Linked DNA regions of Homo sapiens: regions 1, 2 and 4 are each linked to region 3. The links are contacts of gene promoters, found by promoter capture Hi-C in blood cells and fetal thymus (Javierre and others, 2016). All regions are on one chromosome and are shown on one strand. The core of a region is centred on a gene start or on the middle of the fragment in contact, and the rest is flanking DNA. Distances in the headings are between cores, read along the strand shown.

Evidence for each region. The method cuts DNA at HindIII sites, captures the fragments that hold promoters and counts their contacts. A CHiCAGO score of 5 or more calls a contact.
Region 1: a fragment that was not itself captured here is called in contact with the fragment with the promoter of HMX3 in region 3 in 2 of 17 cell types (total B cells and naive B cells); the score reaches 30.2 in total B cells.
Region 2: the fragment with the promoter of EMX2 here is called in contact with the fragment with the promoter of HMX3 in region 3 in 1 of 17 cell types (total B cells); the score reaches 5.9 in total B cells.
Region 4: a fragment that was not itself captured here is called in contact with the fragment with the promoter of HMX3 in region 3 in 1 of 17 cell types (total B cells); the score reaches 7.8 in total B cells.

The regions. Positions count from the first base shown.
Region 1 is chr10:129,971,633-129,974,486 of GRCh38, forward strand. No RefSeq gene overlaps it. Among named protein-coding and RNA genes, the nearest start is that of EBF3, 8.8 kb to the left of the region's middle. RefSeq lists enhancers at 381-1,266, 1,267-2,150. The HindIII fragment of the contact is 2,523 bases long and covers 44-2,566 here.
Region 2 is chr10:117,541,179-117,544,258 of GRCh38, forward strand. EMX2 (empty spiracles homeobox 2) reads left to right here and starts at 1,568. Exons shown (of 3, transcript NM_004098.4): 1 at 1,568-2,495. The coding sequence starts at 2,090. It also overlaps EMX2OS. RefSeq lists an enhancer at 2,783-3,080. The HindIII fragment of the contact is 6,949 bases long and covers 1-3,080 here.
Region 3 is chr10:123,134,659-123,137,466 of GRCh38, forward strand. It overlaps HMX3 (H6 family homeobox 3), which reads left to right and starts at 1,312. Exons shown (of 2, transcript NM_001105574.2): 1 at 1,312-1,792; 2 at 2,400-2,808. The coding sequence starts at 1,393. RefSeq lists silencers at 481-600, 631-760, 1,141-1,220, 1,271-1,680, 1,691-1,740 and enhancers at 527-1,477, 2,660-2,808. The HindIII fragment of the contact is 8,924 bases long and covers 1-2,808 here.
Region 4 is chr10:129,948,610-129,951,432 of GRCh38, forward strand. All of the region lies in intron 6 of EBF3 (EBF transcription factor 3), which reads right to left. Among named protein-coding and RNA genes, the nearest start is that of EBF3, 14 kb to the right of the region's middle. RefSeq lists an enhancer at 483-1,317. The HindIII fragment of the contact is 834 bases long and covers 1,128-1,961 here.

The DNA of each region.
Region 1 (2,854 bases), core at 55-2,554, 6.8 Mb after region 3:
CCCAAACGACTGCCCAGGCCTTAAATTAAAAATGGCAACAATAAGCTTAATTTTTTTTTCCTCCTTAGCCGCGCCGCCCCGGTCCAAGTCTACCGCAAGCGTGGAGCCCCGAGCGCCGCGCCCCCGCCGGCTCTCCCGCCCGCGCGCCGCCCGACGGAGCCGCGGATCCCGGGCCTAGCGTGGGGCCAGGGCGCCATCTACGGGCGCCGCGCGGCTCCGGGCGGCCGCCGCCTCCTCCCTCTCAGCGTCCAGAGCCCGCTCCTCCTCCCGCCGCCGCCGCCCTCGCCCCGCGCCGCCTGCCACTTATCACAATTACCCGACGCTCCCGTGCCATTTTGCTTATGAAACACTGATTGCTAGTTATGCGGACTTTTAAGCACTATATTAAAACTTTCGAAATGAAGGCGCTCTCCTGCCTGCGATTTTTAGGTACAAGATTAAAAGATATGAAATGTAAAGATAATGCAATTTGATTTGTTAGTCTAACTCTGCGATTTGAGACTTGATGTCCCCAAAGACCAGGCGAGCTTTTCCCCTTTATTTATTTTTATTAAAACATCAATCTACGCTGGAGCTGGGTGAACTCGGTTTCACCTGGAGAACATAAAATTCTCCATACCAGAGAAATAAGCACCTTTCATAAATCAATGGTATTCCTGACACATGGATCAATTTTTGGTTGTTAATCCGAAAGGAGGAGTTTTAATTGCTTCCTGCGTTGTCGTCCAGGCATCTAGGCGCTTCGACCTTCCCCATCCCTCTCTCCAAGGGTCTGGCGTTTGTACTGGGGGAAGACGGAGAGTGAAAAACGCGGGGTCCTTCAGCTAAATCCTCGGAACCCCGGATCTTCGCCCGTGCCGGTACGCGCCTCCCCCGCGCCGAGAATCCCTGGCACGCGATCGCCTCCCCGCAGGCCCGCCGGGAAGGCCGCGAGCAGAGGCCAACGGAGGCCTCCCAGGCAGTGCTCGCCAGGAACCAAGACGCTGCCAGGGCGCGGCGCAAAAGTTCACTGCGAGGCCAGGCCTGGGCGCAGCTCATGGTCAGGGGCTCCTGCCTCCACAGTCCCACCCCGCGCCTCCGCCGCAGCCCCGCCCGCGCTCCCGTAGGCGAGAGGAGCGCACCCGGCTCCGGGGCCCCGGCAACCCGGCCCCCAGCGTTCAGTGTCCGGCCCGCCACGCGCGAAGTTCAACTTTGCTGGCGCCGCGGCCGCCTGGGGGCCGCGGGCTGGGGCGGGGAGCCCCCGACGGGATCGAGAGCGCGCTTACCTGTGCCGCTCACTCGACGGACATCGCGGGCGCCCCGGCCGCGAGGTGTCGGCGGCGCCGGCTGCGGGCCGGGAGGTGGGCGGCCCCGCGCCTTCCCACGTTCCCACCTCCCGCCCTCCCGGGAGAGCCCACGGGCCCGGCCGCGAGCACGCCAGTGCGCACGCGCCACACTGCCTTCCACCGCGGGCGGCGGGCTAGGGCCGAGCGGGGGCGCGTGGAGGTGCCCGTAGGCGGCCCAGCGGCCCGCCTGCCACCGTGCCCCGGGGCCGCAGCTGCGCCCAGCGCTAGCCACCTGGAGGAGAGGCCTCCTGGGCCACGCGCGGGGCTCCTCCGCGGGGAGGCCCCCTTGCAAGGACCTGAGCCCCTCTCTTTCGTCGGGGGCCCGAGGGTATTCGTGCGCCTCCTTGGCCAAAAGAGTGCGCCAGGCCTGGAGTGGGGCACCGCTGCTGTGGACACCACTTCGCAGGGCATCTGGAAACGGGTCCCAGGCCCTGGGCGGCTTGAAGCCGTCTGTGTGGATGAGCGCACACTCCCGTGGGCAGGAGATGGCTGGGGTTCTCCCGGTCCTTTTTGGTAAAGTGGATGAGAGGACATCTTCCTGGATACGGATAACTTAATGCAAAGTACTCTACTGGGCCCCGTGACGGCTAAAATGAAATGGGAAGAGGCAAGAGATCGCCCACGAAAACAGAGAAAGCCCGGGGTTCTCCAATAAAGCCACGCTATGGAAGAAAAAACAAAAACAAAAACAAAAAAACGCCTGGATGGCTCCTAGATGAGCTTTGCGTTTAGAGCAATCTCAGTGAAGGAGGGCTTCGGCCGCCCTTCAGAGGCCAGGCAAGCCTGACCACTCCACTCCCATTTTTGATGTCACCCAGCAAATGACCAGAGGTGTAACTTTTCTCATAAGTATCTGGAGCTGCTGCTCTGGAAAAGAAAAGGGGTCAGGCGGGGGTGTGACCTGCATCCCCAACCTGATGGCCGCCCTGGGCTTGGGAGGGGCTGATTAGCCCAGACCCTGGCTCCGGGCCCTGGGCCCCTACCCAGGGCTGCTGCGCTTTTTCTAATTTGCCTCTTCCGGGAGAACCTGGGACTCCTGGAAGATCCTACTAATTCCTATCCATCTGCTTCTTCCAAACCTAAGTGTGATGTAGATACCTGAATAAAGACAACTTTCTTATTGCCGAGATTTGTCTGAAACAGAAAGCACTTTTGTGGGAATGTGGGCCTCACCCTCCTGTATCCATCGCTTTTTCTCGCCTGTTTCTTGCTCCCAGGCTTGTTTCGTGCTCTTCACTTTAAGCTTTTATAGTGAACGTTGAGTGTGCCGAATCATGAAATCTTACTGGAAGGGAAAGTTATTTTTGGCCATTTATTTAGCAAAAGGCACTCTAGAGAATGCAACCCAGAAATGTACTTTATTATGATCACTTAATGTAAGAAAAGAACTAAATAACGAATATTTCCCCTTTGTCATCTTCACTTGGGAATCATTTTTAATGTGAGCCAGCATGAAACCATTTAAGCAATATGCAATATTTTAAGATATAAAATTACCCATGTTTTTAATAGCAACTAACATGTATTGA
Region 2 (3,080 bases), core at 318-2,817, 5.6 Mb before region 3:
ACAGGCAATTCTGCGTTCTTAGGAGAAATGACAGGGGCCTGGGAGTAATAGTTTTAAACGACGCTAGAATTTTTTTTTATCATTAATTGTAAACGTGCAAAATACCTGCTGGTACTTCACTTTAGAAGAATGTAATTGGCAAAAGGAAAAAAAGGAAAAAAGAGGCGGCTGATGAATAGATAATAGATCTTTAACCACCAATAAACAGAGAGCAGCGCCAGCAGCCTGGGGATGTGATCATAATTATGCCGCCGCGCGAGCCAATGGGGACGAGGGAACTCGGTCCTAAAATCATCCCAAAACCGAAGGCGAGCTCGAAAATGCGGACACGGCCCGGGACCGGAGATGCGATCCGTAGTCGTTAGTTGCACTGGGTTTGCACAGCAACCACCACCCCCCCACCAACCCCGGGACAACAGATGGCATAATAATAATAATAGAAATAATAATAATAAAATAATATCATCTATAATAATAATAACATTGACCACACTGACAAAAATAATTACGACGGAACCTTAATAGTACAGTAGCACCATATCGGGCTCTCCCCTGACCTTGGACTGCCGGTCCCAGATATTCCAGAAGGAATTGTTTTGGGGAAGGAGGTGAGCACCCTCCCAGACAGAAAACGCTAGAGACCGTGGGGCGAGAGAGGGAGAGAGTTGGAAGCCCACTGCTCCGGCGGGGTCGGCAGCTCCCGGTCTCAACTCGCAAACGAACGAGCCGGGTCAAGAATCGCGAACGCACCGACCCTGGGACCTCGAGGCTAAGCGTGGTTGATGGGGTGGGAGGACCCCGTACCCCTCACTCCAGGATCCCTCCTGGCCTAGGAAACCGCTGGGAGTTTTGCTAAGTGTGGGGATTGGTATAACCGAACGGCGCCTTTAGCCCGGGAACCAGCCCCTGCCCGCTTACCCTCGCGGTGCTCTTGGGGCGATCCCAGTTCTCCCGACGCGGGGCCGCGTAAGGCAGCAGCGGCGGAGCGCTAGGCTAGAGGAATCTGTCTGTCCTTCTGTCCTACCAGCTTGGGCGAGGCAGGCTCGGGATTCAGGGGGCCGCAGCGGAGGCGGCGCCGGCCAGGGACTCTGCAGGGACCGGGGTGCCCCGGAGGGAGTGGTGCTGGTGGAGGAGGAGGCGGTGGCTGAGGGGGAGTAGGTGGGGAAAGAGGAGGAGGAAGAAGAGGAGGAGGAGGAAGAAGAGGAGGAGGAGGAGAAGAAGAAACTGGAGGAAGAGGAGGAGGCGAAGGAGGAGGAGAAGCCGCAGCGGGCGCCGCAGGAGCGAGTGAGCTGGGAGCGAGGGGCGAAGGCGCGGAGAAGCCCGGCCGCCCGGTGGGCGGCAGAAGGCTCAGCCGAGGCGGCGGCGCCGACTCCGTTCCACTCTCGGCCCGGATCCAGGCCTCCGGGTTCCCAGGCGCTCACCTCCCTCTGACGCACTTTAAAGAGTCTCCCCCCTTCCACCTCAGGGCGAGTAATAGCGACCAATCATCAAGCCATTTACCAGGCTTCGGAGGAAGCTGTTTATGTGATCCCCGCACTAATTAGGCTCATGAACTAACAAATCGTTTGCACAACTTGTGAAGAAGCGAACACTTCCATGGATTGTCCTTGGACTTAGGGCGCCCTGCCCGCCTTTTGCAGAGGAGAAAAAACTTTTTTTTTTTTTTGCCTCCCCCGAGAACTTTCCCCCCTTCTCCTCCCTGCCTCTAACTCCGATCCCCCCACGCCATCTCGCCAAAAAAAAAAAAAAAAAAAAAAAAGAAAAAAAAAGAAAAAAAAAGAAAAAAAATTACCCCAATCCACGCCTGCAAATTCTTCTGGAAGGATTTTCCCCCCTCTCTTCAGGTTGGGCGCGTTTGGTGCAAGATTCTCGGGATCCTCGGCTTTGCCTCTCCCTCTCCCTCCCCCCTCCTTTCCTTTTTCCTTTCCTTTCCTTTCTTTCTTCCTTTCCTTCCCCCCACCCCCACCCCCACCCCAAACAAACGAGTCCCCAATTCTCGTCCGTCCTCGCCGCGGGCAGCGGGCGGCGGAGGCAGCGTGCGGCGGTCGCCAGGAGCTGGGAGCCCAGGGCGCCCGCTCCTCGGCGCAGCATGTTCCAGCCGGCGCCCAAGCGCTGCTTCACCATCGAGTCGCTGGTGGCCAAGGACAGTCCCCTGCCCGCCTCGCGCTCCGAGGACCCCATCCGTCCCGCGGCACTCAGCTACGCTAACTCCAGCCCCATAAATCCGTTCCTCAACGGCTTCCACTCGGCCGCCGCCGCCGCCGCCGGTAGGGGCGTCTACTCCAACCCGGACTTGGTGTTCGCCGAGGCGGTCTCGCACCCGCCCAACCCCGCCGTGCCAGTGCACCCGGTGCCGCCGCCGCACGCCCTGGCCGCCCACCCCCTACCCTCCTCGCACTCGCCACACCCCCTATTCGCCTCGCAGCAGCGGGATCCGTCCACCTTCTACCCCTGGCTCATCCACCGCTACCGATATCTGGGTCATCGCTTCCAAGGTACGTGCCACGTCGCGGAACTGCAGCGCGCCGCTCCCGCCGCATCCTTCACTGCCCCCGGCCTGCTCCGGGTGGGCGCTTGGCAAGGCCTGGGCGGAGGTTCCTCCGGCTCGCGGGCCAGCGCGCCCTGTTGGGAAACTAGGCGGCGCGGGGCCGGGCGTGGTGTCGATCCCCAGTCTCCGAAGCTACGACTGGTTTGGAGTGATGGCCTGCGGGCCGCTTGACCCTTTGGGAAGGGGTGCGAACGGAGAAGTTGTCCCCCAGTGCGCTCGAATCAGAGCAGGCTGGGCTGTGCGTGCCCGGCGCCGCGGAGCCCAGAGCCCGCGGGATCCCCAGGCTCCTGGTACCCTCGGCAATGCCCCCAACCGTCCTGGCTCCGAGGGGCGCGGACAGGACTCGGCCGCCAGGCTTGCTTTCGACTGCGTTCGACCCTGTTCACCACCCACTTTGCGCCCCTTCAGTCCAGACCCGCGGCTTCTTAGTCTTCCACCCTCTTCTGGAGGCGAGAGGATCCTCGCGCCCCGGGAGAAAAGTATGGGATTTGTTTTTTCTTTCCTGCTTTTCGGAGGCCTGGGGAGGGGCGGG
Region 3 (2,808 bases), core at 62-2,561:
TTAGACAGCTCCAAACGCCAGCTGGCCGGAGAGACTTCCTGGGAGAAAGTGCTGTCGTCGGGGTCACAGACTCGGAGTTGATCCGCGAGCCTTGGGCACCGGCGGCCAGAGCAGAGGGGTGCCCTTCCGAGAGCAGCCGTCGGTGCCGAGAAGCTGTTGCCCCAGCAGCCCCACCGAGTGACGCGCGGGTTTTGGCCGGGTCAGCGCGCATACGCACACAGGCACACCCACTCCTGGTCCCGGGGGAAGGCTCACTCTTCGGTTTTCCAGGGCTAAAGGCCAAGGCCACGCGGATTTCTGAGTCCGAAGACGCAGTGCGAGGACTTACACCTGGATTCCCTTACTATCGGCTGGATGGTGGGTGGGGAACCCAAATCCCTCTCTTCTTGGCCTCGCCCTTCCTAGCAGGCTTTAGGAAAAATACCGAGGTCGCCGGACCCCAAAGGGTAGGAAAATGATGAGTTCTCCGAGGGCCGAGGTCACGTCCTGCCTCTTGGGCCGGCGCTGCGTGGCTCTCCAGCTGCGTGGGGGCGGCGGGCCCCTGTCCAGCCCCAGGGGGCGGGGGAGCGGCAGCTGCGAGCGCAGATAACCCCGAGGTGACCCGGGAGGGCCTGGTCCGCCCCTCCCCCCTCCCGCAGGCCTGGCGGCGGGAAGCGGGTCCCTGCGCCGCAGGGGGGAGAGGCAGGCGCGGTCTCCGGGCTCGCGGCCGTTAGTGCGCTTCGGCCAAGGGCGCCGCCTGCTCCGCGTCCCTCGCTCGCCTCCTGCGCTCGCAGGAGCGCTCCGAGTGCCTCTTTAGCGGGAGCCAATATCCTTTTGTGCTAATAGGCTTGTCCTCATTTGCTGCCTAATTGGACTATATAAAGCCAATAACGGGCGGGCTCTTATAGCCCGAAGCCAAAGCGCCAAAATCCGAGGGAAGGCGAGGAGGGGGCGGTGGCGGAGGCGGCTGCGGGGCCGGGGCTCGGCTGAGCCTTCGCCTGCCTAATCCCATTTGCCATTGTACGCGCCCAATCGCCGTATACTCCCCGCATTTAACTTGGATGACATTTTGATTTCATCATTAGCATCCGGCGCCGGATTGACGCAGCCTCGAGCCGGGGACTGCTCTTGCTGCCTCCTCCGCGGGAGCCGCAGCCGCAGCCGAGCCGCCTCGATCCCTCGGTGCCGCGGCAGGGCCGCTCCCCGCCCCTCCGCACCCCTCCCTCATGCGAGCCCGCCCGTCTGGGTCCTCACTCCGCCCTCCCGCCGTTGGATTTGCGCCCGGGGCGGCCCCCGACTTTGCGCCCCGTAGTTGAGTTCCGTTTATGGTCTGATTTCCGGCCTCTCGCCTGCTCGCCCCGCCGCCCGCCTGTCCCGCTCCCTCCCTCCCGGGGACCCGGAGGAGAGGGGACCATGCCGGAACCCGGGCCGGACGCTGCCGGCACCGCCAGCGCACAGCCCCAACCGCCGCCGCCCCCCCCACCCGCTCCCAAGGAGTCCCCGTTCTCCATCAAGAACCTGCTCAACGGAGACCACCACCGGCCGCCCCCTAAGCCTCAGCCGCCCCCACGGACGCTCTTCGCGCCAGCCTCGGCTGCCGCCGCCGCCGCCGCTGCCGCTGCCGCGGCGGCCAAGGGGGCCCTGGAGGGCGCCGCGGGCTTCGCGCTCTCGCAGGTGGGCGACCTGGCTTTCCCTCGCTTTGAGATCCCGGCGCAGAGGTTTGCCCTGCCCGCGCACTACCTGGAGCGCTCCCCAGCCTGGTGGTACCCCTACACCCTGACCCCCGCCGGCGGCCACCTCCCGCGACCTGAAGGTACCGACCTCTCTTTGAACTTTCGTTGTCCCCCTGCGCGCCCGCCCCGTCCCCGCCCCGCGCTGCTTCCCTCCGCAGTTCTGGGACCCCAGCACCCGCAAACCCTCTGCTCGGTCAGTTTTTTTCGGCCCCTAGCCTGCCCTCGCGCTGGGTTGCGCTGCCCGTTAATCCAATCCCACTTGGTGAGAAAAGAAGTGGAATTGGAGCCCCGGGCACGGTGCTTCCCGGGAAAAGTGGCCTCGGGCGTGAATAGGGAGGCTTCGGACGGCCGGGGCTTGGGACACGGCCTGGAAGGAGGGGGTGATTCCAATGCGCCTAAGCCGAAAGGGAACCGTTCTGCCGGCCCCTGGCGAGGAAGCTGAGGGAATGGAAGGAGGTGGCCGCGCTACCACCATCTGCTTGCCTGTCCTCGGGAGGAGGGGGATCCCAGGACTCGGCGTCCCTTCTCTGGCCCAGCCGAGAAGGAGGCAGCCCGCGGGAATGGTGAGGCCTCATGGCCTGGGACCTGGAGGCCGGCGCGGGTTGAGCCTGCCGTCCCCAGGCGCCGGGCCTCGCTCAAGGCTGTGTCGGTGTGCATGTGTGTGCGTCCGTCTGTCTGTCTCCCCAGCCTCGGAGAAGGCCTTGCTGAGAGACTCCTCCCCCGCCTCCGGCACAGACCGCGACTCTCCGGAGCCACTGCTCAAGGCCGACCCCGATCACAAGGAGCTGGACTCCAAGAGCCCGGACGAGATCATTCTGGAGGAGAGCGACTCCGAGGAAAGCAAAAAGGAAGGCGAAGCGGCGCCAGGCGCGGCCGGGGCGAGCGTAGGGGCGGCGGCGGCCACTCCGGGCGCAGAAGACTGGAAGAAGGGCGCTGAAAGTCCAGAGAAGAAGCCGGCGTGCCGCAAGAAGAAGACGCGCACAGTCTTCTCGCGCAGCCAGGTCTTCCAGCTCGAGTCCACCTTCGACATGAAGCGCTATCTGAGCAGCTCGGAGCGAGCCGGCCTGGCCGCGTCCCTGCACCTCACCGAGACGCA
Region 4 (2,823 bases), core at 295-2,794, 6.8 Mb after region 3:
ACTGGGGGAAACTGGGGGGTGGGGGGAGGTGGGGGGATATGGGAACTCAGTACTCTCTGGTCATTTTTCTGTAAACCTAACACTGCTCTAAAAAATAGTCTATTCAGTGTTTTTAAAGCGTTATGAGAACACCTTTAAATCTGCATCAGATGCAGAGGAAGACAAGGCCAGGTTAGGGGTGCCTGTTGCTGGTGTGGCTTCAATGTCCCTGCTTCATGCCCTGCCCCCCAGGCTGTTTGCATCTCCCAGTCCTTCCTCCTGACTATGGGATGTCATTCTGCAGAGCCGGACGTGTGGTTCTTGACAATGAAAACTTGGAAAGGACACCTGCATTAATCTGTCAGAAGAGCATTTAGGCCCCTGCCAGCCATATCCCCTGGTGCTGAAGTTCTTACAAAACTTAAGAGGCACTCGTGCAGTGGCTCATGCCTGTAATCCCAGCACTTTGGGAGGCCAAGGCCCGAGGATCACCTGAGGTCGGGAGTTCAAGACCAGCCTGACCAACATGGAGAAACCCTGTCTCTACTAAAAAAAATACAAAATTAGCTGGGCATGGTGGCACATGCCTGTAATCCCAGCTACTCGGTAGGCTGAGGCAGGAGAATCACTTGAACCCGGGAAGCGGAGGTTGCGGTGAGCCGAGATCGTGCCATTGTACTCCAGCTTGGGGCAACAAGAGCAAAACTCCGTCTCAAAAACACACACAGAAAAGAAAAGAAAAGAGAAAAAGAAAACTTAGGGGGCACTCAGGGAGGAGCCCCTCCCTAAACCAGTGAGCAGCATCCCAGGCTCCAGTGCCAAGAAGACTAAGCCGGCTTTCCTGGGTGTTACCTCAAATAAAAGGGACACTCCCCCATGGGGCCTAAATGACCCTGTTCCAAGTGATGGGACTCGTGGGGGAACGTGACCTTTGATGCAGGCCCCATCACTGCCCAGAGTTGGGGTGACCCTGCTAGGGATCCCCACATGCACGCCTGGGGAAGGCGCACGCTGCCTGCCCATGCCCATAATCAAATCCCGGGCTTGTACTGCACATATGTCACCCTCGGATGGCCCCAGCCCAGGCACAGGCCTCCAGACCTGTTCTTCAGCAGCTCCCTAACATCCAGATTGGCCATCTCTGTGCAAGCTTTCTGATTCAATGAAAACTTAGAGAAAGCGGGAGGGGGTGCAGTTCCTTACCAAACCATTGTGGAAACCTGGACTCAGCTGGCAGGCCTCAATGGTCAGGGTTGGTCTTTCTCCCTTTGTAAATTCATCATCACAAGGGCAAATGCTTTTAGGGCCTTAAACACTGCCAAAGTTTTGTCTCCTTCTGTGCTTTAACATGGCACCCTGCCCCCAACTGCTTTCTGCTGAGAGGGACAGAGGAAAATATAGGCAGGAGGGTGGAGGGTGGAGGGAGGAGGGAGGAGGGAGGAGGGAGGGGAGGGGGGCGGAGGCAGGGGCGGCGGCTGGAGCTGCCTGTCTGGGCAAATGCACGGCCTCCTCTCCAGATGTGCAGGCAGCTCCGTCTTCCAGCAGAGACACGCTGGAGCCGACTCCTTCCGTTCGCGGGGCCTGGGCTCCATGTCCTACAACAACACAACCGCGAGCCCCTTCCTTTCCGCACATGTTAAACTCATTTCCTAGTGAATTACTGGGAAGGCGCGGCTGCTGCCCCCACCACCGTTTGCAGAGGATGCGCCCCATCCACTCGGGCACCACAGCCCTGCATGAATTTTGAGTATTTTCTAGCTGAGCAACTTCCAGCGAAGGAATTGGAGAGGGATCGTTTTCATTTGTGTTGTTTTTAAGGGGAAGGGGAAATGAGTGATTCAAAAACAACTAAAATAAGAGTTTCCCTATACCCCTCCCTGCAGTGCTCTCTATCGAATTGTTGGCAAATTTATAGCATTTACTCTTTTGACAGATATGTCTGACCTTTTTCTGAAAACATCGTTTTGAAAACAGTTTTCTCAAGCTTCTACAATTTAATGAACGCTGGTTACCCCAAAGTCTAAGAAGCTTATAAAATTCAACAAGAACAACAACAAAAAAAAACCCCTTAACCCATGAAATTACTGCACTAATTTTTCTAAATGATAGCCATATTTTTATTAAAGCATGAATAATGCCAGCATAATGTCTCATTATATAGAGTTTGGACCACAAACATTTTTGGGAGATTTGCTATTAAGATAAACAAACAAGAGGAGCTTGTGTTCTGGCAAGCTGACGGAGGGAATGGTTTTCATTTTCTCCAAGTGTAGGCTGCAGAAGCTTTGCCAACTGCAGGTTAAGCTCCTTGAGTTTTCACTTCCTGTACCCCCACTTGTCAATCACTTCCTGTCTGCAATGACAATTTCCATCATTAGAGCTTGGAATTTTTATCTTCTTCAACGTGTCTCCCTTTGCCACTGTTTGAATTCTGATAAATTATTCACCATCTTTAAAAAGTAACCAACAATTACAGCATCACAGTGAGCCACCTATGCCTAGCAAAGATCACCGTCCTCCTGGTCTGTCTCCTAAAGGCTTTGACGAGGCCAGCTTCTCCTGCTTTCTTCGGCATCACGAGAAGGCCTCTGGCCAGCCCCAATTATCTTCTGGTGCACAGAGTAATTATTTGCTTCCTGTAAGCATGCGTAACAGAACCTCGAGTTTGGACGGCTTTCCATAAAGTAATCCAATTCACCCATGCCATCCTAACACAATTACAGGCACTGCAATATCTTCGCTCCTCACCTGATAAGGCTGCCGCAGCGGTGCAGGATGCTTTCCGTCAACATGCCTCCCAGAGTATAGCTTCTGACAGCCCTGCTTCCAGCCCTTGCCTCCACC